2 separate regions of the Homo sapiens genome follow, and region 1 is linked to region 2. Evidence: promoter capture Hi-C in 16 types of primary human blood cells and fetal thymus (Javierre and others, 2016). All regions are on one chromosome and are shown on one strand. Each heading gives the region's core, a stretch centred on a gene start or on the middle of the fragment in contact. The rest is flanking DNA. Distances are from core to core; before and after follow the strand shown. Region 1 overlaps LOC105378017 (a long non-coding RNA gene). Region 2 holds the start of IL22RA2 (interleukin 22 receptor subunit alpha 2).

Evidence for each region. Contacts are between HindIII fragments. The CHiCAGO score rates a contact against its expected background, and 5 or more counts as called.
Region 1: a fragment that was not itself captured here is called in contact with the fragment with the promoter of IL22RA2 in region 2 in 1 of 17 cell types (neutrophils); the score reaches 5.5 in neutrophils.

What each region holds. Positions count from the first base shown.
Region 1 is chr6:137,303,078-137,309,446 of GRCh38, forward strand. It overlaps LOC105378017 (a long non-coding RNA gene), which reads right to left. Exons shown (of 3, transcript XR_943043.1): 2 at 5,349-5,479; 3 at 2,695-2,824. Among named protein-coding and RNA genes, the nearest start is that of IFNGR1, 87 kb to the left of the region's middle. The HindIII fragment of the contact is 4,598 bases long and covers 1,109-5,706 here.
Region 2 is chr6:137,170,268-137,176,295 of GRCh38, forward strand. IL22RA2 (interleukin 22 receptor subunit alpha 2) reads right to left here and starts at 3,377. Exons shown (of 7, transcript NM_052962.3): 1 at 3,146-3,377. RefSeq lists enhancers at 1,477-2,235, 2,132-2,351. The HindIII fragment of the contact is 14,362 bases long and covers 979-6,028 here.

The DNA.
Region 1 (6,369 bases), core at 2,158-4,657, 130 kb after region 2:
TGCCATGATTGTAAGTTTCCTGAGGCCTCCCCAGCCATGCTGAACTTAGTCAATTAAACCTCTTTCCTTTATAAATTACCCAGTCTCAGGTTTGTCTTTATTAGCAGCATGAGAATAGACTAATTACACTGAGGGAATGTACACAGAAGCCTTCTTAGAGATGATACCTGTCTGAAAAATGAAACCGTTAGATAAGAGAGCAAGGCTAGGACTGGGCAGGAAGAGTAAACTCTTTGGCCTTGATGAATGTACCATGTTAGTGTGGGGACAAGGTTGTGGGATGAGGGCACGAGGAATGATGATAGTAGAAGGAAGATAGTGTAGAGACAAATTTTGCAAAGTCCATAAATTGCCAAAGACATGATCTAAATAGATTAAACAGAACAGTAGATGATATGTATTCTTTCTGGGTAGGAGTGGGGGTGCTAAAGGGAAGGAGAAAAAGAGTGAGTACAAACCCTCAGAGATTCCTTCTCTCTTCTGAATAGTTACAGCAGAAGTCTATTTTCACTTTTAGTGGGCTGGTCAGCATCTGGATGAGTAGTATTTGTAGATTTCCAGGCTTCTGTGGTTTGGAGGTTTATGATAAGGATTTTACTGTTGGATGGGAATCAGAGTTCCTGCAAACTGATCCTGATCCTTGACTCAGTCGGGCCACCTGGCTATGGCAGTATGTTGCAGACAAATGGCTGTAGTCACATGGCTCGGCAGTAAAGGTATGTTGAAAGGTAGTTCTCCAGAGAGAAAGGTAGATCTCTCTCATTTCTTACATCTTGTGAGCAGAACTAACAGACCCCTTGTTCTTTTCAAAGATGTTTGTATAGTAAATAGTCTTGGAAAACAGAGGTAAGATCTCTCTCCACAACAGAGGGCAGGTTTGTTTGCTGTCCAGTATAATAATATCTCTCTCTAGGGCAAAGAGAGAGATATATTATTTTCTTTAATGAGCGGGTTTGTTTGTAGCCCATTAAAGAAAAATAAAGTTTTCCTAAATTTGGGATTCCTTGGCTATTGTAACCAAATTCATGTTCAGCTGCTCACTGCTTGAAAAGCCAGACATGAGAAGTGAGGATTAGTGGGAGGAAAGCAGGTTTCTTCAAGTGCTAGAAGCTTGAGGAAACAGCCTGACTCAACTCTCAAAAAACCATCTCAAATTCTCAGTTTGGCTAAAGAGGTTTAAAGGGGAAAGGTGGCATGGAAACTATGCACCAGCATGGTGCGGGGTGCAAGTTTGCTTGTAATTTTCTGGTGACTTTTTTCAGTAATGGACCACCCAGAGGCCTCACTGGCATCATCTCAGCAGGGTTCAGGTTATGGATTAATTGAACACCAATTTTTTCTCAGAAGGGAGAAAATTGCAACTGCTATCTCCACTTTATGCCTACATTATTTCAATATTGGCCACTGGAATTCTCTAGCAAACAGTTACATGTAACAAGGAACAAAGGGAGGGAGGGGTTACTTTTAGAGTAAGCTAGCAAACTGGCTATACTAGTTACAATATGATGCAAACCTCCTTCATGTATCGACCCAGCCCACCTTCATTACTCCAGTGAGACTTAGCAGAACAAGGGGTTGATGTGAATATGAAAACACATGCTACCCGTTGTGTTGGAAGTAAGAAAGTCCTTTGAGTCTAATCCAGAGTCTTGTGGCTTTTGCAATTATCCATGAAATTGTGGCAGGATAAATTGTTAGCTTGCTTTTTGGTAAATAGCTTAGGTCTTCACAGCTCTTGACAGGCAGGACACTGGTGCAAGACTCCAAACTGCAGCAGGATCATGATAAGGGTGTCTTTGAACAACACACTTGGAGTTAGGCATTATCCAGGTAGAACAGAGCTAATAGTTTCTGCTTGATCCATATTGATTATGAATTTGACAAGTTTCTATCACACAGATCACTCAGGAAATCAGTGTTAATGGAAATGATTACACAGGGGACTATAATTTTATTTACAGTATGTGAAAGTTGAAAAACATAGGGACATAAATACAATGTCTAATTAAATTCTGTTTTAATTCCTTTTGGACTGCCGGGACCAGTTCGGTCGGGGAGACCCTAACCTAGTGGCGCTAGAGGAATTAAAGACACATACACAGAAATATAGAGGTGTGAAGTGGGAAATCAGGGGTCTCACAGCCTTCAGAACTGAGAGCCCCGAACAGAGATTTACCCAGTGTTTATTAATAGCAAGCCAGTCATTAGCATTGTTTTTATAGATATTAGATTAACTAAAAGTATCCCTTATGGGAAACGAAGGGATGGGCCAAAATAAAGGGTTGGGTTTGGCTAGTTATCTGCAGCAGGAGCATGTCCTTAAGGATCGCTCATAATATTGTTTGTGGATTAAGAATGCCTTTAAGCAATTTTCTGCCCTGGGTGGGCCAGGTGTTCCTTGCCCTCATTCTGGTAAACCCACAACCTTCCAGCATGGGCGTTATGGCCATCATGAACATGTCACAGTGCTGCAGAGATTTTGTTTATGGGCAATTTTGGGGCCAGTTTATGGCCAGGTTTTGGGGGGCCTGTTCCCAACATTGGACCACTTTTCATCCACTTCCATTCAAAGTCTGGATGATGGAACAAATAAATAAGGTGATCATTAATGTATATATGGATTTTCCATTTTATTTTTCATATTACAAAGTGATATGATAGACTGAATTGAGCCTGAGCTTGAGATTTATTGAAAGCAGATTTTCCTTTATCATCAGCTGTCATTTTAAATATACTAAGGAGAATATGCAACACTGGGATTTATGAGACGTGGCTTGAGTTGCTACACTTTGCCTTGGTGGAAATTCCAGTCTTGTGAGAGATACTGGAATGAAATACATCTTAGTTAGTTTACTGGAGGAACACCATAACATTTGGGTTAAGAGCACAGATAATGAAGATACACTGCCCATGTTTGAATTCTGGCTTTATGTCTACAGCCATACCACCCTGAATGTGCCTGATCTCATCTGAATTCTGTCTTTATCATTTACTAGCTGTGTGATCCGAAGTAAGTTACTTAACCTTTCTAAGCCTCAGTGTTCTCTTTTGTAACATGGGGATAATAGGACTTACCTGATAGGGTTTTTGTGAGAATTAAATGAATGTATACACATGTATAGTTGTGCTTATAATGGTATCTGGCACATATATGTACTGTAAGTTTTTGGTATTATTATACATATATGTACATTATTGGTACATATACTAAGACCAGTATTTCATATCATAAAACTGAGAATAATATCTGAAATAACTATTATTTGAATTTTTCCCTCCCCTCTAAAAAAATGTTAACTTGCTTACAAATAATTACCTGTGTGGAAATGTCTGCAAATAGTCATTACTCTAATTAGTTCATGGAGGATATGTTGGGCCAAATAGATACAGCAATACTTAATTTTCCTTTACAGAGTTAATGGTTTTTAACCCTAACAATTTATCATTCAAAACATCTGAGTGCCTACTATGTGCAAAGTTACATATTGGCCATCTTTTAGCTCAAAAAGATTGTTCCCTACTAATTCTGAGACTAGTAAAAGTCTTCTGTAAAACTCTTTGATAGTCATGAGGGTATTGGGGCTGACAATATGATACCCCAAAGTAAGGCACCTTGGCATGCTGAGTACTTTGAACTAAAGGAGATTGAAAGACTGAGAGGCACGGTCCTTCTGCTCCTCTCCCGTCCTCCTATCTGTTGCCCCTCTTTCTACCACAAAGCGAGTCATAGAAACCAGAATTCCTCTTTCCCAAGGTGGGTCACAGAAACTAGAACCTCTTTCTTCCAAAGCAAGTCATAAAACATATAAAGGTCACTCTCTCCCTTCTCCCTTGAAAATTCTCATTCCAGATGGGTCCTGCCCCATATCCAGGAGGAAAGAAGGCTACACAGGGAGGCCAAAAAGAATCTGATCAGTCAGACCTCACTGGGTTCTGCCCTCAGTCTATTACCCTTTGGTCCAATCACACTTCTACACGGCTACCCATTCTTCATTGATCCTAAGCATAAAAATAGATGGTTTTCCCAGGGTCTTTAGGTCTTCATCTCTGAAGTTTCCCATGTCACATAAAACTTTGATTAAATAAATTTGTTACGCTTTTCTCTTGCTAACCAGTCAGTCTTTTGTTATAGAAATGTCAGCTGTGCTGGATGAGGAAAGGTGTCACATCTTTCTGCCCTTACAAGTGCATAAAGAGGTCTGTTGCTTACAAAATGTCTGGCGCATAATAAACATTCAAAAAAACAATGTGTCATTAGCACTGTCAGGCCCGGCCTATTGTGGAGCGTCTGTAAATGCAGGTGGTGCTAAGTCTGATCACAAAATAACTGAAATCACAGATTACCAATGATTGGTAGTTGGGTTGGGTTAGTAGTTTAAGAAATTATTCCATACTTCATGGGTACAGACCTTTTGTCCTGTGACCCTTGCATTTTAGACTACCTGTCTTTATGTATTTTAGCTTTATCTTTGGCGGGTAGATGAAAAGTCAGCATGTTCTTATTTATTTTTAAAATTTGAGGAACTCCGTGATCAGAAACCGTCGTGTGTGTGTGTGTGTGTGTTTCCATTTTATAGCCTAACTTCCTCTTGGGTCTCATATAGCTTAGTCTATTTTCTAACATGAACTTCCTTCCTTTCTGCATAACAGTGTCTGAATTTGCAGGACTCTGTACCCAATAAGTGTTGTTAACTGATTGGTAATCTGTGATTTCAGTTATTTTGTGATCAGACTTAGCACCACCTGCATTTACAGATGCTCCACAATAGGCCTGACCTGAGAGTGCTAATGACACATGGTTTTTTTAATTGTTTATTATGTGCCAGACATTTTGTAAATAAAATCTCATTTAATAACGTTAAACTGTACTTAAAGCATCTAGTTATTTAGAAGTCACATAGCTGTAAAAACAGCCCACTTGTCAAATCCAATAATTATGAGTATTACTTATCATATTTTATGCTGCGTTAGGTCTAAAGGCATATATAGATATTGCTTATCCTAATATTTTTTCCAAGGCAAAGTGTAGCTACTTAGGTCAAACTGTAAAGTCTAATTATGTTGACACATAGAGCAAGGATTAAGGCATTAAATATTTGGGATTTCTATTCATATTTTAAAAGTCACAGAAAATTACATTTCTTGACCCTTTTTTTTCCACATTTTAATTATGCCAAAAATGATTTTAACTAAACATTTTTCCTTATCAGAAAAAAAACCTGGCTTAAAAACAGTGTCTTCTCTCTATCTCTGGCAATATCAATATTGATATATAAAAAGGACAGTATATACAGGTAACTTTCCTAAGCCTCCCAAGACCCCTTTCATAATCCAGGCTATGTGCTTACTCCATAATGTTGTACAGTCCTGGTGGGGTCTGCTTCGCTGTTTCCAAACTGTGAGGAGCTTTGAAAACCATCCAGTCCCATTTCTTGGTTTTACAGATGGTGAAATGAAGGCCCAGAGAGATAAAATTAACCTAAGCAAAGTCATTGAAGAATAGGAAAGAGTAGTGTAAAATCACACTGCTAGAAAAAAAATCTTCCTTCATAATTAATTTTGAAAATTCCATGTCTAATCTGGAACTAAATATTCCCTGTAAAAGAAAATTCCTTGAATACCATGGATAATGCATTCTAATATCTAACAACCTTTTTAGTCAGAAGTGTCATTCTTGAGTGTAATAACCTCTTTTCATGCAAATTAAGCTTATTTCCACTTGTTAGATGCTTAACAGAGATGGATGATAGTCACTTTAGTAATTATAATCACACAAATGTGCATTAAAATATTTGTCAGTGTTAACTTATGCTCCATTATTTTCTTTGTACTTGCTAAAGAATTCAACATTTAAAATTTTCTAACATGTCTTTGCTTCCCATCCCCAGTTACTGAGACAGAAATCTCAATATCATGATTTGCTCCTCTATATTTTTCACTTTTACCTCTAATAAATTACTAAGGCCTGTTTGGTTTTGTTCCTTTGGTAGCCCTCAAATCTCCCAACCTTAATGTCACAATTTAATTTATACCACAGTCATTTATCACATTTCTCACATTATCACATTTCACTTGTGATAATTGCTGATTGATTAGTCAGCAATTATTGTGACAACAGCCAATTCTAAAATCTTGGTTGTTTAACGAACAAACAAACATTTATTTCTTGTTTGTGTTACATGAAGACAGCAGGTTAACCGCAGGTTTGACTGGGAGGGGTGGGGCTTGCCTGAGTCTAGCCGGGCTTGCCTGACTTTGGCTCGGCTCCACATCTTATGTCATTCCAGGGCTCAGGCTGAGGCAGCAGTTCCTGTTTGAGGTTAACTAGTCTCATGGCCAAGGGAAGAAGCTCAGGAAGGACAGAGCCAC
Region 2 (6,028 bases), core at 2,127-4,626:
ATGAAATCAACTATAACCTAAGAGTAGTAGTAATACAAATTTTAAAATCCTTTTAAAGTTCCTGCAAAATGTGACCCCTGCCTTACATTCACGTTAAAAGGGAATATTAACAGCCTGTCTTCTCTCTGTGGACAGTGGACCTTATCTATACTCCCCAACTCCACATTCCTCAAAGTTTATTACAGGCCCAGTGAGTTCCTGCATGACTGCAGGGTCACAAGACTGATAAGTTTAGGCTGCAAGACATGTCTTTCTCAAAATGTAACAAACGTTGTAATACTGCCTTTGTTTCTTGCTTCTGTAACTCGATTCCCGCCTCACGTAGTTCCCACCTTAAGATATTTAAAAGTAGGAAAAGCCCTTTGTTTGGGGCTCAGACTAGCTGAGCCGGTGATCACCTTAATTTAATAAACTTTCCTGAACTTTCGGTCTCTTCAGTCTTTGATCATCCCGCAACAGACCCAGGGCTTACATACCACCGGGAAAGGGCCTGCGTGATTCAGAAGGGATGTATATGACAATTGAAGTATCATAACATCAAGGTGGTTTTGACGTACAGGCAGGACTTATGACAAGTATGTGTTCTCATACAAGGAACAATCGATAAACTAGAAATCTTAGAAGCCTTCCTGAAAAAGGATTAATCAGAAGTCAACATGGCAGATTAGCATCTAAAAATGAAGTTGCTTCAGCCTCCGCAAGTCATAAAGGTTTTTTTGTTGTTGTTAAAAAGAGAGGCTCTTTAGATCAAAAGGGGAAATGTATACTGGTTTCTATTTTCTCTTGTATAGTCTCTTTCAAGTTCTTGGTAGAATAGCTCCTTTAGTAAGGAATAATGATGGCTGCTAAGCAGTATCCATCCATGCAGCTATCCAATAACATTTCACAAATATTTGCTGTCCTACCATAAACTAGGAATTAGTCTCAGCAGCAAGGATGCAGCAGCAGATAAGAGAGACATTGCCCCTGCCTTCCTTAAGCTTGCTTCTCAAGGGAAAAGTAGAGAATAAGGAGCTACAGCAGGGTTACAACTTCTATTCATCTAACCTTCTCTGTCTTTTTCTTCTCCTTCTTAAATGGGAGATGAAAAGTTTCAGAAGCCGGCTTGCAAAGCCACTTTGCCTCCCACCCTCCATCACAACCATTAACCAAGACTAGAATGTAGGAGGGGAAGCAGGTAAAATGAAAGTGCTAAAAGGAGAGGGTTGGGTGCTGCTGATGTGGAGGAGGCAGAGTCTTCAAAGAGAAAGGGAAGAATGGCCTTCTGCATACAGACAGGAGCAGAGGAGTTGTTCTCAAGTGTAGACCCTCCATCCCAACCCCATGACCCAGCACCTGTGAACATTTCTAGACACTCGGGTGCCTGAGACTGTGAGGCCTTGGGTGGAGCTGGGGCCACGCAGGGAAAACCTTATTCCTGAGCAAAGGGTCTTAGAAGAGAGCTTATCAGAAATTTCCTCAGAAACCAGATCCCAGTGGACCAGGCCACTATCAATTTTCATTTAACAAATTTCAGTTATTGGAGGGCAGTTGCGCTGCATGCTTTCTGAGGCCAGCCCTATGTGGAAAGGTTTGTGTGGATAACATCAGGTTTCCCAGTGCCTCTGTTCTACGGCAGTCTTCTGAATCCAGGCTTGTATCTCCTCCAGCTGAAGTTTTTGGTGCTTATAAGGTAGCTTCTGCTTTGAAAGAAGAAACATGCAGCACGTTTTATGTTCCCTTTTCACCTCTTCATGCTCCTTAGCTTGCAACCTTCTCAGCATTGTTATTCACTTCCCTGCTAATGTTTACCACTTCACATTTACTTTGGTATTTAAATGGGGGATGATAATGTGGGTTTGCACTATTGATGTTCAATGGCTTCAATACCAATAGATCTCATTTTGAAGCCACCAAATTGCTCCAAGTTCCAGCTAAGAATAAAAGGAAAATATTTAAATTCGAGGTTTTATGATGAGAGCAGCAGAGAACGAAATTGAGGTTTCCACTGGGTTGCTGACTTTGTCAAACAAATGAGGGGAAATTAGGCGGAGTGGGATAAGCAAAACATATTTAAGAACTGAATTCTCCCCAAAACGTGAGCTTTGGTGCTCTATTAAATTTCACAAACCAGACCAGTTCTGTCACTGTTCAATTAGCTCTAGTTGTGTAATAGAACCTGCATAAAAGCCAACACTGTCAACAAGGCCTCAAGGTAGATGAAAAGATAAAATTAAATTCTAATTTCCCATCAATCTGGAAGCAGAAGAATTTGTACAGAATTGTTTCAAATGAAATGCTGTTTTGTTTGGGAAGTAAGAAAGTTTTAGTCACTAGGGGATCTCCGCTCTGCCTCCTTTCAGGCATGAAATGCTGGCTTCATTCCCTGCCCTCCCCCGACCTCGGCCCCACTCCGCAGCAGGGAGAGTCCACCTTGACGGTGACAACGGGTATTTCCATCATCGTGTTGACTCTGGAGAGAACTTGCTTAAGCCCCTGTCTTGAACAGATTTGATTCTCTTCTTCCTTTCTTCTTGTGGCTTCCAGCAGACCAACCATTTATCTAATTAAGGAATCATTTTTCATTGTTTTTAGGTGTGATGTGGAATTTTGGTTATTATTTTTATTTTTTTTTAGAGCTACCTATTATAGTACTACAGATGAAATGGTGTCATGTCTGGGATTTGCTTCAAAATAATACAAAGGCCTGGGAAAGGGGGTTACCATCCATGAGCTGATAACTGTTGAAATTGGGTGTCAGGTTTATTATACTCTACTTTTGTATGTACTTAAAATTGTTCATAACAAAGAAAAAAGATTTTTAAAGTTTATCTACAAGATGTGGCCAGACACGGTGGCTCACACCTGTAATCTCAGCACTTTGGAAGGCGGAGGTGGGTGGATCATTTGAGGTGTGGAGTTCCAGACCAGCCTGGCCAACATGGTGCAACCCCGTCTGTACTAAAAATACAAAAATTAGCCAGGCGTGACGGTGTGTGCCTGTAATCCCAGCTACTCAGTGGGGCTGAGGCAGGAGAATTGCTTGAGTCAAGGAGGTGAGGTTTGCAGTGAGCCGAGATCGCGCCACTGCGCTCCAGTCTGGGCAGCGATAAAGCGAGAGTCCATCTCAAAAAAATAAATAAATAAATAAATAAAGTTTACTTACCAGATGCTGTCTTCCTTTTGGTAATTTTAATGCCATTTTAGTGTCAATAATAAGATCTAATAATTATGGGACGCCATGTTATGTTTTTCCCATATTTTGTCTTTGTTAATCCTCTTATGAAGTCTAGGAGATTGGTATTATTATTCATTTGATGTTACAGATGAAGAAACTGAGACATAGATAGAGAGGTGGAGAGAACTTGACCAGGGCTCTATAGCGAGTAGTGGTAAAGTGAGGGCTGAAATCAGATCTGGTTAGCCTCAGGGCCTGAGGAGTATTATGAAACTCCTCTTGTGTTATTCTTTGCTTGTAATAGACATTCCATAAAGGGATAGAATGATGTCAAAGAACATTTGTCCATTGGCTTCTCGAATCGTTTATTCAGTCAAACAAATGTTTATTGAGCAACTGTTATATGCCAGGCACTGTGTTAGACATCGGGGATGCAGAAATGAACAAGACTACAGAGCCAGCCCTCAGGGAACCAACAGCATTTTCTTCAACCAGGTCTTGGTAGCAAAGGGCTAAGTGTTTCTTATTGTTTTTCAGAGAAGTGTTTAAAAACTGGTGTTCAGTATGACTTTGGTGCTGTCCATTGAAGGGAAGTCAGAGCAACTGTGTTTCTGCTAGGCCCTTTCCTTCATCCTATGATTTGGTGGGCAGCTGAGCATCTTTTAAAAGTTTCATCATGAATGATAATCTGAACACCACCCTTCTCCCTCTCTGGAAAACTATAGAGCTGTAGAGCCAACAACAGGGAAACAACTTGTTCTTTCTTATTTGCTGGGACATTAATAGCTCCACCGAGTAATATTCATGTCCTTTAAGCAGTTCGGCATTCTGGAAATAATTGGCATGCAAAAATTCAAAATGGTTTGTGAACTTGAATTCAGAAAAGAAAAAGAAACATTGTTATTCAAACACAGGTGATAAGCACAATGACTAATCTGAGTTTTTGGACTGTGATCACTAATATATTATTTAAAATCTCCACTCATAGGACATAGGGCTTAATGAGGTTAACCTTTCCTGCTCTTCACTCTTATTTTTCTGGATAAAAGATGCTATTGATTTTGCTTTGATTATTCTTTAAAAAATTTTTTAAAATTTATTTCTGAAAACCAAAACATAAAGGAGTGGTAACATTTAAAAAATATGTATTTTTTTTATTTCAGTAGCTGTGCAATAGTGCAAGTGGTTTTTGGTTACCTGGATGGATTGCACAGTGGTGAAGTCTGAGATATTATTGCATCTCTTACCCGAGTAATGTACATTGTACCCAATATGTAGCTTTGATTATTCTTCACCCAAGGTCACCTTGAAACCCCTACCAGATATCATCAATCATTATGCCCATGCACCAGTATGTTTGTATGTATTGTTTGATCCTGAAAATATCTTCATGGCATAACCAGAATCCAACTGGTTTTCACCTCCTCCACTGTACCCATTTGGTAACCTGCTATCATCATCTCTTGTGTGGACTGTGGCCACAGCCTCCTTACTGGTCTGCCTGCCTCTGTCACTGTTCTCTGCATCAGGTGGAGTGTTCCTATTAAATGTCAGAATAGAACATTTTATTCAGAACCCTGTGATGCCTTCCCATCTCACTCAGATTGAAAGTCAACATTTTTCCAGTCCCTTACTAAGCCCTATATAACCAGGTCCTGTTACCTCTAAATTTATTTCCTACTGCTCTCCTCCCAACCCATGGTGCTCCCTCCTGGGTGGTCTTTTTGCTGTTTCTCAAACATATCAGGCACATCCCTACATTAGCAAGGTTCCCTCTGCTCCAATGCTCTTCCTGAGATGTCCAGGCTCACTCCCTCACCTCCTTCATGTCTCTGCTCAAATATTATCTTATCAGTGAATTCTATGACACCCAAAATAGCAGTCCCCAACAGCTGTCCCTGGCACCTTTATCTGTTTGTTTTCCAAAACATTTATCATCATTTGGCAGGCTATGTTTCATTTTATTCTTGTTGTCTATCTCCCCAACTAGGATATAAGCTCCACGAGGTCAGGGATGTTATGTGTTTTGTTCACTGCTTTAACTCTAGCACTTAGGACAAGGCTGGGGACACAGTAAGCCCTTATCACATGTCTAGTGAATCAAAAAAAAGGAATGTGATTTTAGCAACTGCCATGAATTTACAAGAATTAAGCTAAAGGAACGGGAAGGTGCTTTTCTGCTTTTTATGGTCTGAAGTAGGAGTCCTGAGGGGAAGGGGCTGAGATTCTGTGGACTGTGAGGTTACTATGGTCAGATACTCACGAGCTCAGACACTCATGGGCAACAATGACCTTTGCAAAATCATGCAATGTTGCAGTCAGCTCGTCAGTTGGATAAATTAATCTGAGTGACCTAGGAATTATCTGCTTCTTAAGGATACATAGATTTCCCTGAGAAATCATCTGGGTGCTTTTGGAATTTGGGGGCAGAAAATACAGGATAGTATTATCTGACAATTTTCTAATTCTTCTATGGTAATTAGTGTGTTTCGATTTTTTTTTTATCTCATCTAGATTCAGTTGCTACAAAGTATATTTTCTTTAGAAGACTATCCTTTTTATTCATGCCTTTAAATTTATTGGTACAGAGTTGTGCAAGTTATTCCTTTATGATTTATTTAATTCTCCTTTTTCTGTGACTTCCCTTTTATAATTTTCTGTTTTGAGTAATGATTTTCCCCTTGTTTTCTTAGTAAATTGGCTGGATATTTATTTTCAAATTTCTTTTCAAGGAACTAAATTTTGTAGTTTTGTATTCTACTTTAAAAAAAGTCATGTCTCATTTTTATCTCCTTTACCTTTAAAAATTCCTTCCTTTTGTTTTTGTTTTATTTAATTTGTTGGATTTTTCAAAAAACAAAAACTCCTGAG